5 separate regions of the Homo sapiens genome follow, and all the other regions are linked to region 5. The links are contacts of gene promoters, found by promoter capture Hi-C in blood cells and fetal thymus (Javierre and others, 2016). All regions are on one chromosome and are shown on one strand. The core of a region is centred on a gene start or on the middle of the fragment in contact, and the rest is flanking DNA. Distances in the headings are between cores, read along the strand shown.

The links. Contacts are between HindIII fragments. The CHiCAGO score rates a contact against its expected background, and 5 or more counts as called.
Region 1: a fragment that was not itself captured here is called in contact with the fragment with the promoter of NUP58 in region 5 in 3 of 17 cell types (total CD4 T cells, neutrophils and naive CD8 T cells); the score reaches 7.5 in total CD4 T cells.
Region 2: a contact is called between a fragment that was not itself captured here and the fragment with the promoter of NUP58 in region 5, in 1 of 17 cell types (non-activated CD4 T cells). The highest score is 7.1, in non-activated CD4 T cells.
Region 3: a contact is called between a fragment that was not itself captured here and the fragment with the promoter of NUP58 in region 5, in 2 of 17 cell types (non-activated CD4 T cells and fetal thymus). The highest score is 6.4, in non-activated CD4 T cells.
Region 4: a contact is called between a fragment that was not itself captured here and the fragment with the promoter of NUP58 in region 5, in 1 of 17 cell types (naive CD4 T cells). The highest score is 7.5, in naive CD4 T cells.

What each region holds. Positions count from the first base shown.
Region 1 is chr13:28,132,598-28,135,480 of GRCh38, reverse strand. No RefSeq gene overlaps it. Among named protein-coding and RNA genes, the nearest start is that of PAN3, 4.5 kb to the left of the region's middle. The HindIII fragment of the contact is 6,379 bases long and covers 1-2,883 here.
Region 2 is chr13:27,623,542-27,626,536 of GRCh38, reverse strand. It overlaps a transcript of POLR1D not described here. Among named protein-coding and RNA genes, the nearest start is that of POLR1D, 3.1 kb to the right of the region's middle. The HindIII fragment of the contact is 1,313 bases long and covers 1,043-2,355 here.
Region 3 is chr13:27,424,714-27,427,756 of GRCh38, reverse strand. It overlaps GTF3A (general transcription factor IIIA), which reads right to left. Exons shown (of 9, transcript NM_002097.3): 1 at 2,819-3,043; 2 at 565-665. The coding sequence starts at 3,019. Among named protein-coding and RNA genes, the nearest start is that of GTF3A, 1.6 kb to the right of the region's middle. RefSeq lists enhancers at 1,464-1,683, 2,634-2,703 and silencers at 2,794-2,873, 2,974-3,033. The HindIII fragment of the contact is 2,120 bases long and covers 734-2,853 here.
Region 4 is chr13:27,450,520-27,453,611 of GRCh38, reverse strand. It overlaps MTIF3 (mitochondrial translational initiation factor 3), which reads left to right and starts at 3,048. Exons shown (of 5, transcript NM_152912.5): 1 at 3,048-3,092. RefSeq lists enhancers at 2,614-2,673, 2,694-3,053, 2,897-3,092. The HindIII fragment of the contact is 761 bases long and covers 1,462-2,222 here.
Region 5 is chr13:25,300,050-25,302,988 of GRCh38, reverse strand. It overlaps NUP58 (nucleoporin 58), which reads right to left and starts at 1,364. Exons shown (of 16, transcript NM_014089.4): 1 at 1,109-1,364. The coding sequence starts at 1,215. RefSeq lists enhancers at 1,069-1,118, 1,229-1,308, 1,469-1,708. The HindIII fragment of the contact is 2,784 bases long and covers 633-2,939 here.

The DNA of each region.
Region 1 (2,883 bases), core at 178-2,677, 2.8 Mb before region 5:
ATATGTAGTCAACTCTAAGTTATTTTCATGTTAATGAAGATTACATCCAAAACTGCAAATAATCCATAAATTATTCATAAAATGTATACTTGACCTCCAACAGCATTTCCCCAGCAACAGAGACTACATTGCTAAAGGGTAATGTTAATTTCTATTAAATGCTAATAATTGAGGCCAAGCGCATTGGCTCACACCTGTAATCCTAGCACTTTGGGAGGCGGAAGTGGGTGGATCACTTGAGGTAAGGAGTTTGAGACCAGCCTGACCAACGTGGTGAAACCCCGTCTCTACCAAAAATACAGAAAATTAGCTAGGCATGGTGGCAGGCACCTGTAATCCCAGCTTCTCGGGAGGCTGAGGCAGGAGAATTGCTTGAACCTGGGAGGCGGAGGTTACAGTGAGCCGAGATTGCGCCATTGCATTCCAGCCTGGGCAACAGAGCGAGACTTCATCTCAAAATTAATAATAATAAAGATTGAGAGGAAAACGTCACATTTTCTGAATGGTTAATTATTATATTAGTGATAGCAGCCTGAGTCTTAAAAATTCTCCCTTAAGGACAAGCATGTGGCTCACACTTATAATCCTAACACTTTAGGAGGTCAAGGCAGGAGAATCACTTGGCTCAGAAGTTCTGAGACCAGCCTAGGCAACATAGGGAAACACTGTCTCTACAAAAAAATTTAGCTGGGCATGGTGGCATTCTGTGGTCACAGCTACTTGGGAGGCTTAGGTGGGAGGATTGCTTGGGCCAGGAGGTCGAGGCTGCAGTGACAGCCTAGGTGACAGCAACCCTGGTGTCACCTGGTGAAAAAAAGGTGACCCTGTCTCAAAAAAAAATAAAAATTATCCCTTAAGATAGAGTGGAAACTGCATGTGGATAAATGAGAGTTGACTGTTTTTGAGTCCTAGAAATGAAATTTGCTGCATATGTATAAATACATTTCTTACATATTTGTAAAGTATGTTCCTTATGCACTAAGCTCTATAATTTTATACAAAGTTACTAGCAACTGCTTAATTTAATCTTGTTGACAAATTTTGGGTGCACTAGAAGCAAAAACCTTCCTATTTGTGGCAGTGATAAATAACTGATACATGACAGATTTTTTGGCCAGGCGCAGTGACCCACGCCTGTAATCCCAGCATTTTGGGAGTCCAAGGTAGGCGAATCACTTGAGGCCAGGGTTCCAGAACAGCCAGGCCAACATGGTGAAACCCCATCTCTACTAAAAATACAAAAGTTAGCCAGACGTGGTGGTGCAAGTGCCTGGTGCAAGTGCCTATAATCCCAGCTACTCGGGAGGCTGAGGCACGAGAATCACTTGAACCTGGGAGGCAGAGGTTGCAGTGAGCCAAGATCGTGCTACTGCACTCCAGCCTGGGTGACAGAGCAAGACTACGTCTCAAAAAAAAGATTTTTTAATGTATCTATGACCCTTTATAGAAGACATAGTCTTTCATCATTATCATCATACTTATGTACTGATATATACTACATAGGTTTTTTTAGTGTTTATGGCAGTAAAAGCAATTTGTTACCTTTCTATACAAGTTTTCAAAGGATTTCAAGATGCTCATATTTATTATATTCTTGTGAAATACATTAAAGGCAAATATGATTTTGAAATTAATTATATCTTGGAAATGGCCCTGACAATCTAGTATATCATTGGTATCATCCCATACAACTACCACCAGCCATATAGAAGTACCTTTAACTTAGCAAAACTCACTATTACCACTTCTGTTGGTTAAGCACCCCCTACTCCAGAAACTAATATTTGTATGTGAAATATGACCATTATAATCTTAAATCGGATAATTCTCTATTAATAATTGATTTTACTATTTCAAAGACTATGTTTATTTCAGTTTAGATTTTCTAATTTATACTTGGATGAAAAACTTTAAATCAGGAGACTTGCTGAAAAAGATATGTATTAAAGCAAGAATTTTTTTTTTCTTTTTTTTGAGACGGAGTCTCACTCTGTCGCCCAGGCTAGAGTGCAGTGGCGCAATCTCGGCTCACTGCAAGCTCCACCTCCCGGGTTCACGCCATTCTCCTGCCTCAGCCTCCTGAGTAGCTGGGATTACAGGCATGCGCCACCACCCCCAGCTAATTTTGTATTTTTAGTAGAGACGGGGTTTCTCCATGTTGGCCAGGCTGGTCTCAAACTCCTGACCTCAGGTGATCCACCCGCCTTGGCCTCCCAAAGTGCTGGGATTACAGGCATGAGCCACCGCTCCCGGCCAGAATTTTTTTTCTTAATCTTTACAACTTTTCTGTAAAAAGCAAGAATCTTAATAAGATATACTATTAATAAAATGAAGCTCCCGAAAAAAAAAAAAAAAAACTTTGTCTTTTACTGTCTGTTAACCCTTTCACATGACCTATTATAGAGCAATAATATAAGTGCTAAAATTTATTCACAAGGTTTTTTATTTTATTTTATTTTATTTTGAGACAGAGTCATGGTCTGTCATCTAGGCTGGACTGCAGTCGCATGATCATGGCTCACTGCAGCCTCAACCTCTTAGGCTCAAGTGATCCTCCCACCTCAAAGTAGCTGGGACTACAGGCATGTGCCGCCAGTCCTGGCAAATTTTTTATTTTTTGAAGAGACAGGGTCTCACTGTGTTACCCAGGCTGGTCTTGAACTCCTGAGCTCAAGCAATCCTCCCACCTCAGCCTCCCAAAAGCTGGGATTACGAGTGTGAGCCATCGCAACCGGCCTTATTTTTCATTTATATTTCTATTTATTTAAGAGACAGGGTCTTACTATGTTGTCCATGCTGGCCTCAAACTCCTGGGCTTAAAGGATCCTCCTGCTTCAGCCTCCCAAGTAGCTGGGACTACAGGCACTTAAATAGCCAGACTAC
Region 2 (2,995 bases), core at 450-2,949, 2.3 Mb before region 5:
ACAGACTTTATGCAGATTCCTTTCACATATACAAGACTCTTGGTTAACCTGCCTGCCCCCTTCTCAGTTTCTTCCCTCCACCCAACTGCCTTCTGCAGGTGTTTTGTATGAACCCGTGAGTTTATGGTCACCCTAAAGACATTCAAGACTGCATTCTACGTGATCAGTCTAAATTCTTTTAGGTGCAATGAAGTTGTGATGTGGTGAGCGGTCGCCTCTGGCTGTGTTTCCCACTGTACTTCATCTACTATCATCAGTCTGTACCTTGATGTCCACTAATTAAACTTTGTTTTCATCTCCTGACAGGCCTTGGTTTAGAGGAATTAAACTCCAGGTAAGTAATTCTGTTTACTATCCCCACAGGCAAAGTTTTGGGAGAGGAAAAAAGTTTTTAATCCTTTTCCACATCCTTTTTGAGCTTCCTTTTATCTTCAAAGGCTAATGCCCTTAAACAAACATTGACTTTCCAGAATTTCTTACTGTCACCATAAGAGAATATGCTGTATCCTTGCCCTATGACATCCCTGCTCCCGCCTAAACTCACCTCTTCCAATGTCTTCATGTGATTCTTTTATTGGAAAACCAAACTAAGCCATTCCTCTGTATAATGAGTGGTAATGTTTACTCTTCTTAGGCAGTAAACTAATGCTGTTACTGCCTAGTGACCTCCACGTTAACTCCAGGTGACATTTTTCTATTCCCTATTTGAAACCCTTGGCTTCCACACCCTATTTTTGCACTTTCCTACCATTACATTGACCCAAACTTACAAATACTCTTATCTTTAACTCTTCTTTGACCCAAACTTTAAATACTGAAGTTGCCTAGGGCTTTGTTCTGGGCCCACTTCTTTGTCACCCTCTATTTTTTTTTTTTTAATCAATTTATGTCATCTTTATGGCAAGGACTCATAAAATTTGTCTCCAGCTTAGATCTCTTCCACGATCTCCAACTCACATAGCCACTGCTTACAATGTTCACAAATGAAACTTTTGACTCCTATCATCTTTTCCACCTCCCAATCTATTTTCCATTTTAAGCTTCCCAATTTCAGTAATTGGCCCCAAAGCTAGGCAGTAGTCATCTTTGATTCTTCATCTTCCACAGTTCCTGAAGTGTACCAATTCTGTGCCAATTCAATTCTAAAATATACCTCAAACCTACCTTCTCTTCTCCATCACTAGCTTCTACCCTTCCAGGCCACTTCAACTCTTTATAGTGTCTCTCTCTGCTTCTACTCCAGCCTCCCTATAATTCATCTCCCCCCACTCTGTAATCAAAGTAAAGAAGACGTCATTCCCACTGAACCTAAAATCCAAAATCCCTACTACCCCAACTCTTCCTCCCATGGACTCCAGAGGACAGGCCCTTCTCCTTGTCTACTGTGCTACAAAAACATGCAAATCTTTGTTCAATATCTTCAGTTCCTCATGCCACCAGTTTTCTGCTTTAGGACCTTTGCACATGCTATACCCCCAGAATGCATTTTCTCTCCTCTTTGCACAGCCAGCTCTCTCCCTTCCTGTAATCTCTAGAACACCTTTCCTAACTTCCGTGCCTAAAGTAGATTCCTTTCTTATGTTTTCTATCTTGACCCTACATTTGCTGCTTTTACAGAATTACAAGTTTTTAATTTTATATATTTTTTTGAGACAAGGTCTCCCTCTGTCACCCAGGCTGGAGTGCAATGGTGTGATCATGGCTCATTGCAGCCTCAACCTCCTAGGTTCAAGATATCCTCTCGCCTCAGCTTCCCAAGCAGCTGGGACTACAGGCATGTGTCACCATGCCTGGCTACCTTTTTTATTTTTTTGTAGAGACAGGGACTCCCCATGTTGCCCAGGCTTGTCTCAAACTCCTGGGCTCAAGTGATCCTCCCACCTTGGCTTCCCAGGTGTGAGCCACCATGCCGAGCCTCACAATTTTTTTTTAAGGGGCTCTTATAACACATGCTTTATGAGAACAGGACTTACTCTGTCTCATCCACTATAGCTATATATCTATCCCCAAGGCCTGGAACATACTAGTGCTCAAAAATATGGATATCTCTTTAAAGAATTTGGCTGAGTGTAGGAAATGTAGGCTCTATGGCACGCTAGTGTAAGAGGTCAGGTTTGAGTGACTGAAAAGCTGCATGCCATAACTACTTACATGAATTCATAGAGTATTTACTAAGTGTCCACTACCTGTCAGGTGTTCCAGGTACCAGAATCATGTTGACCTCCAAGTTGGTTTAGTGGGTAAACAAGATAAGCACTACCAATAGCATAGTAAATGCCAAGGCCAGGAAACACAGGGTGTAATGAAAGCACAAAGAAGTACCCAAACTAGGCTGAGAGGCCTGACACATAAGCTTTGACTTAAGAGTACGGCAGGAGTAAGACTGGCCCAGGAAGAGGGGATAGATAAACAAGGGCCCAAAGCACAGAGCACTGGCGGGTGGGATATGTGTTTTCCAAAACAGTCATTTCCCCTATATGGAATTTTCCTTCTCCTTGGCTTTACCTTCTCTCAAATAGGGCTTCTTCTACATTACCCTAGGCTATACCTACTTAAGGACTGAAAATGTTTTCTAGTCATCCCAATTTTCTCCTTCTGTAATATAATCAAAACATCTTACCTTACTTAGATCATGACTAAGTATATCCCAAAATTCAAGCAGTAAACTGGTATCTTTCCTGTAAATGCCTCAAAGATGGAGCCTTACTCCCTAAAACTCTCATGTAAAACCAGAATTCTCACACTTCTTCCAAATTATTCCCACCCTTGCCAAGTCTACCAATCACAGCAAATGATGCAATTCTTTAAAAGCCAAAAAGTTTAGCAAGAAGCCAAGTCCCCACCCCAATCTTCTTTCCTTCTGTTTTTAAACAACAATCTAACTGGGGTCATGGTTTTTGTCTCTTCCCTTACCCCCACCACTCCAACTACAGACATGGATATATACTTCTTTTAATTCCCATGATCACAGTTCTTGTCTAGGCCTCTGATATTC
Region 3 (3,043 bases), core at 544-3,043, 2.1 Mb before region 5:
TTTAAGACTTCTTTACAAATAGGAACAAATACAAATATAGTTGCTTCCTGCCTACCCAACACCCACTACTCACCCCTCCCCCTACCCCCTAGCTTTTTTACACACATAAAAGTAGCCTAAAGAGGACTCTTCTGCACCTTGGTTTTTCAATTAAAGTGCCCTGGTGATTTTCTCATGGCTTTGCAGAGAGCATCTGCATTCATTTTCCTGGCTGTAGGGTATCCCATTGTGTTGATATACTTTAGCTTGTCCCCACCCATGAGCATTTTATGTTAGCTCAGCCTCCTGGGTAGCTAGGATTACAGGCACAAACCACCATCCCTGACTAATTTTTGTATTTTTGTACATACGGGGTTTCACCATGTTGCCCAGGTTTGTCTCAAACTCCTGGGTTCAAGTGATCTGCCCATCTCCGCCTCCCAAAGTGCTGGGATTACAGGCATGAGCCACCGAGCCCTGCCAGGCTTCACATTCCTGATCTCGTGAGTTAACATCAATCTTCTTACTGGGTCTATATGCCCAACACAACCCACTTCAAAAGCCTAAAAACAGGTCTCTACTTACACAAACGGCTTTTCTCCTGTGTGAGTCAGAATGTGGCGGCTCAGATGGTAGTCCCTGATGAAGGCCTTGCCACACCCTTCATAGTCACAAACAAATGGTCTCTAGCAGGAAAAAAGAAAAAGCATGTCACTTCTGCACTAGTTAGTAACTCTGGTATTATTTAAAAGCTTAAACTGCCTAGTGTTAAGGCCACAGGCTTCCTATGAAGAGGTGGTTTCTACTCAGAGCTGTGCACCCACTGCAAGACGCAGTGTTCCTGCACAAAGTTACACAACATAAACATCACAACTTCTCACAAAGTCACTACACAGATTTTTGTTCCATGAACAGCATTTAAAATAAGCAGGCATAGCATTTTTAACCTGCTCCCAACCCGGCAGCAGGCTTTCACAGCAACCCCCTCTTAAAGACGCCCTGGCTGTTAGCATGGCTTGTCTGCATGGATCCCCACCACCGCATGATTTAACATGTAAAAAAGCAAGCCTAGGGCAGAGGAACGAGGGAGGCCTGTCTCATCCCAGACAAGCCCAGGGTCTGTGCTAGGATAATGCCAAGCACAGCTATAGGAAAGTGTGTCACACCTGAAAAAGCTCACAGGTGCCAGGGCGAAGCAAAGAAAACAGCTCAACACCCTAAATGCAACCACCTTTTGTAACCCAGGAGTTGGGAGGGGGTGACTCATTTTGAACCTATAGTAAAAGCCAAACACACACCCCAAATAACCAAATAACCAGTTTGGTGCATCAAACTATGAAAAGCATACTACCAAGGCGTCCAGGAGGGAGGCACCGAGGCCTCCATGAGAGTACTAGGAGCAAAACAAGCAAACAGGAACACAGTGAGCTACATACCACCAGGGGCGGAGCCACAGAACCTTGCACAGCGGCAGGCGTGGAGTAGGCTCAATAAACATTTGTCAAATTAATCTGCATGAGAGATCTGGGACAACAAAGATGACTCCAAGTTTTTCAACCTGTATTAAGGAAACTGGTAGCGCCAGTATCCAAAATACAGCACACCGGTCTAAAAGGAAAGGCAAGCTCTTACGTGGATCTACTGGTAATACAGAGCCCAGAATTTAGAGGCTAGAACGGGCAAGAGGAAGGGCAGAGGGGCAAAGCATAAAGGATGTTATGAGTCATGCCGGTGGCTATGTAAGACCGCAAGAGGGAGCTGGGCGGGGTGGAACATGCAGAGGGCAGAAGAGGATCCAACGAAAAGGGCAGACGAGGAAGAGGAAAAGAACCAGAGAAGGTCTCAAGGAAGAAGCGGTCGGCCTTCCAGTGCTGGAGAGGTTAAGGAATGAGGCCCCGGAGGACACCTGGAGAAGGTGGCCCATAAATTAGAGGAGGTGCAAGGGGCAAAGGTATGGACTGCAGCCCAGTGGTTTAAGAAATTAAGGGCTTTAAGCTGAGGCAGTGTGAAGCCTAGCTCTGCCAAAAACTGGGAAGCTGGGCAGATTCCTTGACCTCCATGACCCTCGTTTTCCTCACTTGTGTGTGACATGGGCTGCCACGTCATATCATGGTATCTGACATTCTCCTGCCCTCAAAATAAAATCCAAACTCCTAATGGGCCTACTTCTCAGACCTCATATGGTGATCTCCGCACCCAAACACACCCACCTGCCTCCCACCCCAAGGGTCACAGGCTCCCTTTGTGTTCTCTCTACCTAGCACAAATGTCTGCATGGCTAGATCCTTCCTTCTTACACGGCTCACACAGAGAGGCCTTTCCTGACCACAACACTGCATGTCATTCCCACCTATCCTGTGGTCGGCTCGACCCAGGAACAAAGGTCCATGGCAGCAGAAACCTTGGGTTTGCCTGTTTTGCTCACTGCTCTCTCCAGTGTGGAGTTACGAAGAAATGAGCACATGCTGCTTTCACGACCCCTGGTACATGTAACCCATCTTCTGTACCAGCTCCAGGGGCCAGTGTTTGGCAGGTGTCTAGTAGCGGTGGGCCCCCTCAAACCTCACACTTATTTGCAGATTACGGGAGGCACTTGGCTGGCCGAGACTCACGATCAATGACTGCTTAGTAAATCCCGAGCCCCTGCCATGGATATCAAGGTCGCAGAACGAAGGTCCTACAACTTCCTGTCTACTTCCTCAGCTCCTTCCCCAAGTCCTGGATGTCAAAGCTGAACGCGCTGCACAGCGGGGCCTGCGGCCCTGGCCACGACTGCAGTGGCTACCCCGGGGCCACGCGCCATCCCTAGGCCCAGGGTTGGCAGCCTCGCCCCCCTCACCTCCCCCGTGTGCTTGCACAGGTGCGCGTCAAGCTTCCAGGCTTTGCTGTAATTGGCGCTGCAGTCAGGGAAGGAGCAGATGAACCTCCTGGGAAGCGCGGGGCGCGGCGGGGTCGGAGCTGAGCTCTCGCCGGCTGCAATGAACGCGTCGGCGATGGTCAAGGACGACACCGACTCGGCGACCACGGCCGGCGGATCCAGGGCGCCGGCGCCTCCAAGCCCAGG
Region 4 (3,092 bases), core at 593-3,092, 2.2 Mb before region 5:
CATGGTGGCTCATGCCTGTAATCCCAGCACTTTTTGGGGCCGAGGCAGGTGGATTACCTGAGGTCAGGAGTTCGAGACCAGCCTGGCCAACATGGTGAAATCCCGTCTGTACTAAAAATATAAAAACTAGCCAGGCGTGGTAGTGGGTGCCTATAATCCCAGCTACTTGGGAGGCTGAGGCAGGAGAACTGCTTGAATCCAGGAGGCGGAGGTTGCAGAGCCGACACGGTGCCACTGCACTCCAGCCTCGGCAGCAGAGTGAGACTCCGTCTCAAAAAACAAACAAACAAAACAAAAAAACAACCACCACCAGGATTTTTATTAGTATTAGATTTTTAAATGAATTGTTAGTCATTGTGGCATTATAAAGACGCAGCCCAGTGTTCATAACTTTTTAAAGAAATCACCCACAGACTGATTCTTTTGTGGATCAGATATGTTGTACCTCAATGACCTTGGGCTAAGCAAGTAAATCTCACATACAATCCTGTTTTGGAAGGTCCCCTCGGCGTTGGGGAAAAGTGGGAGGACTTGGAAAGCTAACAGGCAAAGAGAGGGACGGGATATTTCCATTATTCCTTCATCAGAGCAAATCACCAATATATTCATTGAAAGAGAAAGTTCATGGGCATGCTATGGAAATTAACGTAGAAATTACTATGTAATAGAAAATATAGGCATTTTTAGAGTCACCATGATTTGAGTCTTATTGAGTTACATTTTTTGAGGGGGTTAAATTATATGTAGAAACGATAACAATTGGGAAAGCTCTACACATGTCTCAGAGTCCTCTTCTATGTACATAACGGAGTAGTTTATTAAAGATCTGTGGCATAGTAATAGCATTTCCCCAAACCTCTTCATCTTTATTCAAGGATCTTCAAAGTCTGCCCCCACCAAGCACAGCTCAAGGCTCTCAATGACTCTTTAAAAGCTTCCAAGTGGCCGGGCGTGGTGGCTCACACCCGTAATCCTACCACTTTGGGAGGCCGAGTGGGGTGGATCACCTGAGGTCAGGAGTTCGAGATCAGACTGGCCAATATGGTGAAACCCCGTCTCTACTAAAAATACAAAAATTAGCCCGACCCAGTGGCACGCGCCTATAATCCCAGCTACTCGGGAGGCTGAGGCAGGAGAATCGCTTGAACCCGCGAGGTGGAGGTTGCAGTGAGCCGAGATCGCGCCACTGCACTCCAGCCTGGGCGACACAGAGAGACTCCATCTCCAAAAACAAAACAAAACAAAACAAAACAAAAAAACAAAAAACCCCACAAAAGCTGCCAAGCTCCATTTCGGCTGGAGGTCAAAGAAGAGTTCAAGGGAAAAGATGAAAAAAATGGCTTCTCTCCATCTGTGGGCATGTCTGTAATTGCCACCCCATCTCTGCATGTCTCCTCCCAGGAACACTAAAGCACCATCTTCTAGGCGTGGAGACATCTGACAATGGAAGTCTAGAAAGCTTCCTAAACCACCTGCTCTGGACACAGCTGCCTTCAAAGACGGACTGCAAATGGATGCTGGCCGGTAGCTTCAGTTACCAGTGATTACTTGGTGTGAATCTACCTGTGCTATTACCTTAGCAAATTTTAAGTCTTTAGTTTGGGCATTAAATGTTTCAGTTACTTGTACATACTTCACATCCTTTTAATGTTTTCATGGACTCGTACTGTTTACTGTTTCTCTCACTACTTCAGTCTAGCAATGCAAGGAACATTTAAAGTTTGCCTGGGTTTGGGGTTTTTTGGCTTTTTTATTCTTGATTCTGCTACTAGTTGTGCGACCTTGGGCAAATTTGTTTCAGTTCCCTCATCTGTAAAATGGGTAATAATAATAATTGGCTCATAAGGTTGTCCTGAAGATTGAATAACTTGAGATATGTTCAGTGCGTAGAACAGTGTCTGGCACATAGGCAAAAGCAATCACAAATGTGGGCAATTATAATTGCTGAGCACCTAACTTTTCCCAGGTATTGTGCTACTCAGTCTGTCCCCGAATCTACGTCACACAAAATATCTTGGCATTGAGAAATAATTTTGATAGAATAAAATGAATCCTTAATTCTTCTTGATTAACTTGGAAATGGCCAAGATGCACACCTGGACTTTCGGTCTCACACAAGAGTTGTTTCATTACCTCCCTATTTTAACAGTGAGCGTCGAGCTACCAGCAGCTAAAAAGGAAATGGAGATTTCGTCTTTGCTCCCAAAGAACTATTTAAAGCTTTAGTAGTTGTGTCATCTGTAATAAAAGACGTAATGCTGACTCAAGGAGTTAATGAGAAATAAGACAACGCCTTCCAGTGGACAAGTAGCCAATAAATGTTAGTTTTTCTTCGTACCAGGAATCCAAACATTCCAGGTATGAAGCCAGATTAGGTGGCTTCACGACTGTGGACTCGCAGTCTGCCCTTGAGGAATTTCTTATTGAAGAAGAAAAAGAGGGGGGACACGGGGCCCAGACCCCCAGCACCCGGCTTTCGAGCAGGCTCCACGGGTCCGGGTCCGGGTCCGTTTTCCCTTTCGCCAGCTGGGGCCCCGTTCGAACCTCTCCCAACTACAACGCGGAGGCTCCGACGCCCCGGCCCCAGCTTTGTTTTGCCTCCGGGAGCCGCGCGCCACCGGGGACCCGCGGGGAGCCGTTCTCACTCCGAAGCTGTCTGCTCACCTGCAAATCGGAGACAGCGCCCTTTCACTTACGATCCTTATAAAAGACGCTTATAAAACATTTTATTCAGTGTTACATTAAAAAGACGTTTATGAAAGCAATTTATAAAGCCCTAGTGGGAGACCGAGATTGGTGTTAATGTAACTGGAGTAAGGGCTGCTCCGATTGCTGCAGAAATTCGACATTAGCCTTCACCGCACCTGCGGAGCAGCGGGAGCCAGGTGAGCAGCAATTTCCCCTCAGGGACTTCCTCCGCGTTCTCCGCATTTTCTGTCGGCGGAACTGAATCCCAACAGTAGAAAAACGTGGCTCCGCCCATCACCTTTCCTTTAAAGGACGCGGGGTGAAGCCCCGCCCACTACGGAGAGCGAAGGGGACTCGCCGCAGATCCGCTGTACTTGCGTCCGCTACAGTATGTCAATCGCTTG
Region 5 (2,939 bases), core at 115-2,614:
TGGGAATCTGTCCAATAAATATTTGTTCCACGAATGACAATAGCCTAAGCAGGGTTGTGGAACTGGAAATAAAGACAAACAGAAATGGCAGAAGTAACATTATCAGAACCTGTTGTTGAGCGAGTAGAGTAAGAATAACGGAGGTATGGATGAAAATTCAAATTTCTGAATTGACTGTGTAGTCCGTGGTTCCTCCTCCCTCCCTTTTTAAACTGCAGGTCATGCTTAAGTATTTGCCTTTTAAATCTACAGCCACATCTTTTAAGCTTCAGGAAGTATCTTGTTGACAGTGTGCACACTCCTTAACTTTATGAACCCCTCCACCTTTATCTTAAAAAAAATTGAGTTCTAAAGCTTAAATCTCTCATTAAAATGTCTCACCACTTTGTTTCTTTCTGGATAGTTATGTTTTTGTCGCCACCTGAACTAATGGGTTGCACAAAAACAAGGAACATGCTACCTACGTTTTGTAATTTAAGTAAAAGACAAATTGAGTTATTACAACACAACATTCTCGCATCAGATATACTAATCTGCACATACTGCAGAAAATTACCACTAATAAACACTGTAAAAAAGTGTTTTTGTTTTTTTTAACAAAAACAGATAAGGTCCCATGTGGCACAAAAGCTTGAAAAGCTGGTTAAAAACCACAAAGTTATTAAAACACCGTCATATCCAAAACCGCAAATGCTGCAATGAAATCGGAATTATCTATCATAAAACTCCACAGTATGCTATAATTTCATTCATTCATTCAATGTTCATTCTATGCCTAAGACTGACACATCGCTAAAGCTCCGGGGTAGACCCCAAGGCCCTTCCACGCAGTCAAGACCCCACTAGGTCCAAATAATGCCTGAACTATACGTGGATTCTGGAAACCTCACAGCACAGAACCCATCCCGCCCTCCACTTCACCAGGCCGCGCTGGGCCCGGGTACCGCGGCGAGAGGCCTACGACGCCGGGCGGCTAGATTAAGTGCTTCTCTCCAGCCCCACTGGGAAGGAAGCCAGAGGGAAGAGACAGGATGGGGACACCAAGGGAGCTTTGCGGGGGTGGGGGTGGGGGTGAATCCGGCCCAGGAAGGCGAGAAAGTGCGGTTACCTAGACGCTCCCGTTCCGAAGGAGAAAACGCCGCCTGTGCTGGTCCCGCCGGCGGCCACGGTGGTGGAGCCCAGAGTCCCGGACCCGAAGGAGAACCCTGTGGACATGTCTGGCCAGGGCTCGACGCCGTCAGCAAGGCGAAATGGGTCTGGGACACTTCTCTCGCCTCAAAGCCGAGGCGGGCCGGGCAGCATCTCTCTCGCCCGGCACGGACCTGGCGGGAACTTCCAGCCCCAACGGCGGCGAAGGCAAGGCTGAGGGGGTGGAGCAACCACGCAAAAGTACGCCCGGCGCTCGCCGCGCGCACGTAGCCCGCCGGAAGTGTAACCGTCACGCAATGAGCCCTGGTACGTGAGTGGGGGACGGCGAGCCGCGCAAGGTACGCTGGGACCAGGCGAGAATAGGCGTACTGCCTAATCTCTTAAAGGAGTAGGCTCCCAGAGTTTAAAAACAGTAAAACCATTTCTGTCATTTTTTAGTTCTTCTATCGTAGCATCTGTACTGACATAATCCGCACTTTAGGGTGATGAATGTCAATTGCTACTTCTATCTAGCCTCCTGCCAAAATTGATGCTCAGAATCGCAGAATCGGGGAGGTCCCTCCTGAGCATCTCTAAGCTCCCCACTCAGAAAAGGAGGCGGCTTCGGGCTTTCGTTGGCTGCCGCCCCATCCCTAAGAAGGAAGGGGAGCGTGTCTGCTTCCTGAAGGTTCGGAAATCAATCGAAAATAATCCATGCAACCGTCCCACGACGTGAGCCCCACCCCTGCGCCCCAGGCCTCGCGGAGCCAGTTGGTCGCAGTTGTTGCGAGCCCGACGCCCAGCCCCGAAGGGGGCCCAGAAGAGCGTCCCAGGCGTCCGTGGGGTGGCCGGCTGTGGTCCTGGCGCCCAGAAGTGGCCAGGCCCGCTGGATTTCCTGGGATGCGGTCAAGTCCACAAATACTGTCCGTGCATCCTGATGCTGGAGGGCGGGACCTTGGGCCGAGCGAGTGTGGCTCCGCCAGAAGGGCCCTCGGACACAACCGGTGCTGGAGGAACTACAAAGTGGAAGGATTAGGAAACGCACAGGAACATGTACGAAAGAAGGCGAAATGTGAGGTGTAACTTACATTTCTAGGATAACTCAAGAAAAATTCGCGTTTAAAGAGAACCTCTCTGGCGAAGCATCAGGAAAGGCTTCCTGGTGGTGGTGCATTCGAGGGTTGTCATCATAGTGTTAGTTTTTATTTTTCCCTCAGGGATTGTTACATTACTCCCCCAAATGGTTTTCCTACTCGTGATCTCTAACAAAATCCATCCCATAAGCAACCCCCGGATTTATGATCTAAAAAGCCCAGTGGCTCTTTAGTTTGGCACTTGATGACCTCCGTATGATTAGTCTTTCTAACCTCATCTCACAGTTCTCCCTAATTCAGTACTTTAATCTTCCGTTGAGCTTGGGCATTGCCACCAGCTGTGGACTGAACTATTTCCCTCCTCCCCCAATCCATATGTTAAAGCCCTACCCCACCCCAATATGTTGGTATTTGGAGATGGAGCCTTTGGGAGGTAATTCAATTTAGATGAGGTCACCTTGGTGGGTCGCCCATGGCGAGATTAGTGCCCTTATGAGAAAAAACAACGAAGAGCTTGTTCTCCTCTGTGTGCCATGTGAGGACAGAGCAAGAAGGGGCTTTCACCTGGAACCCAAACTGCCCCATCTTTATCTGGGACTTAGCCTCCAGAATTGAGAGAAGTAAATGTCTGTTGTTATAGCCACCTCAGTCTATGGTATTTTGTTGTATCAGCCAAGCAGACTAATACACCACCTCTGTGTTTGTATAATTAAAAAG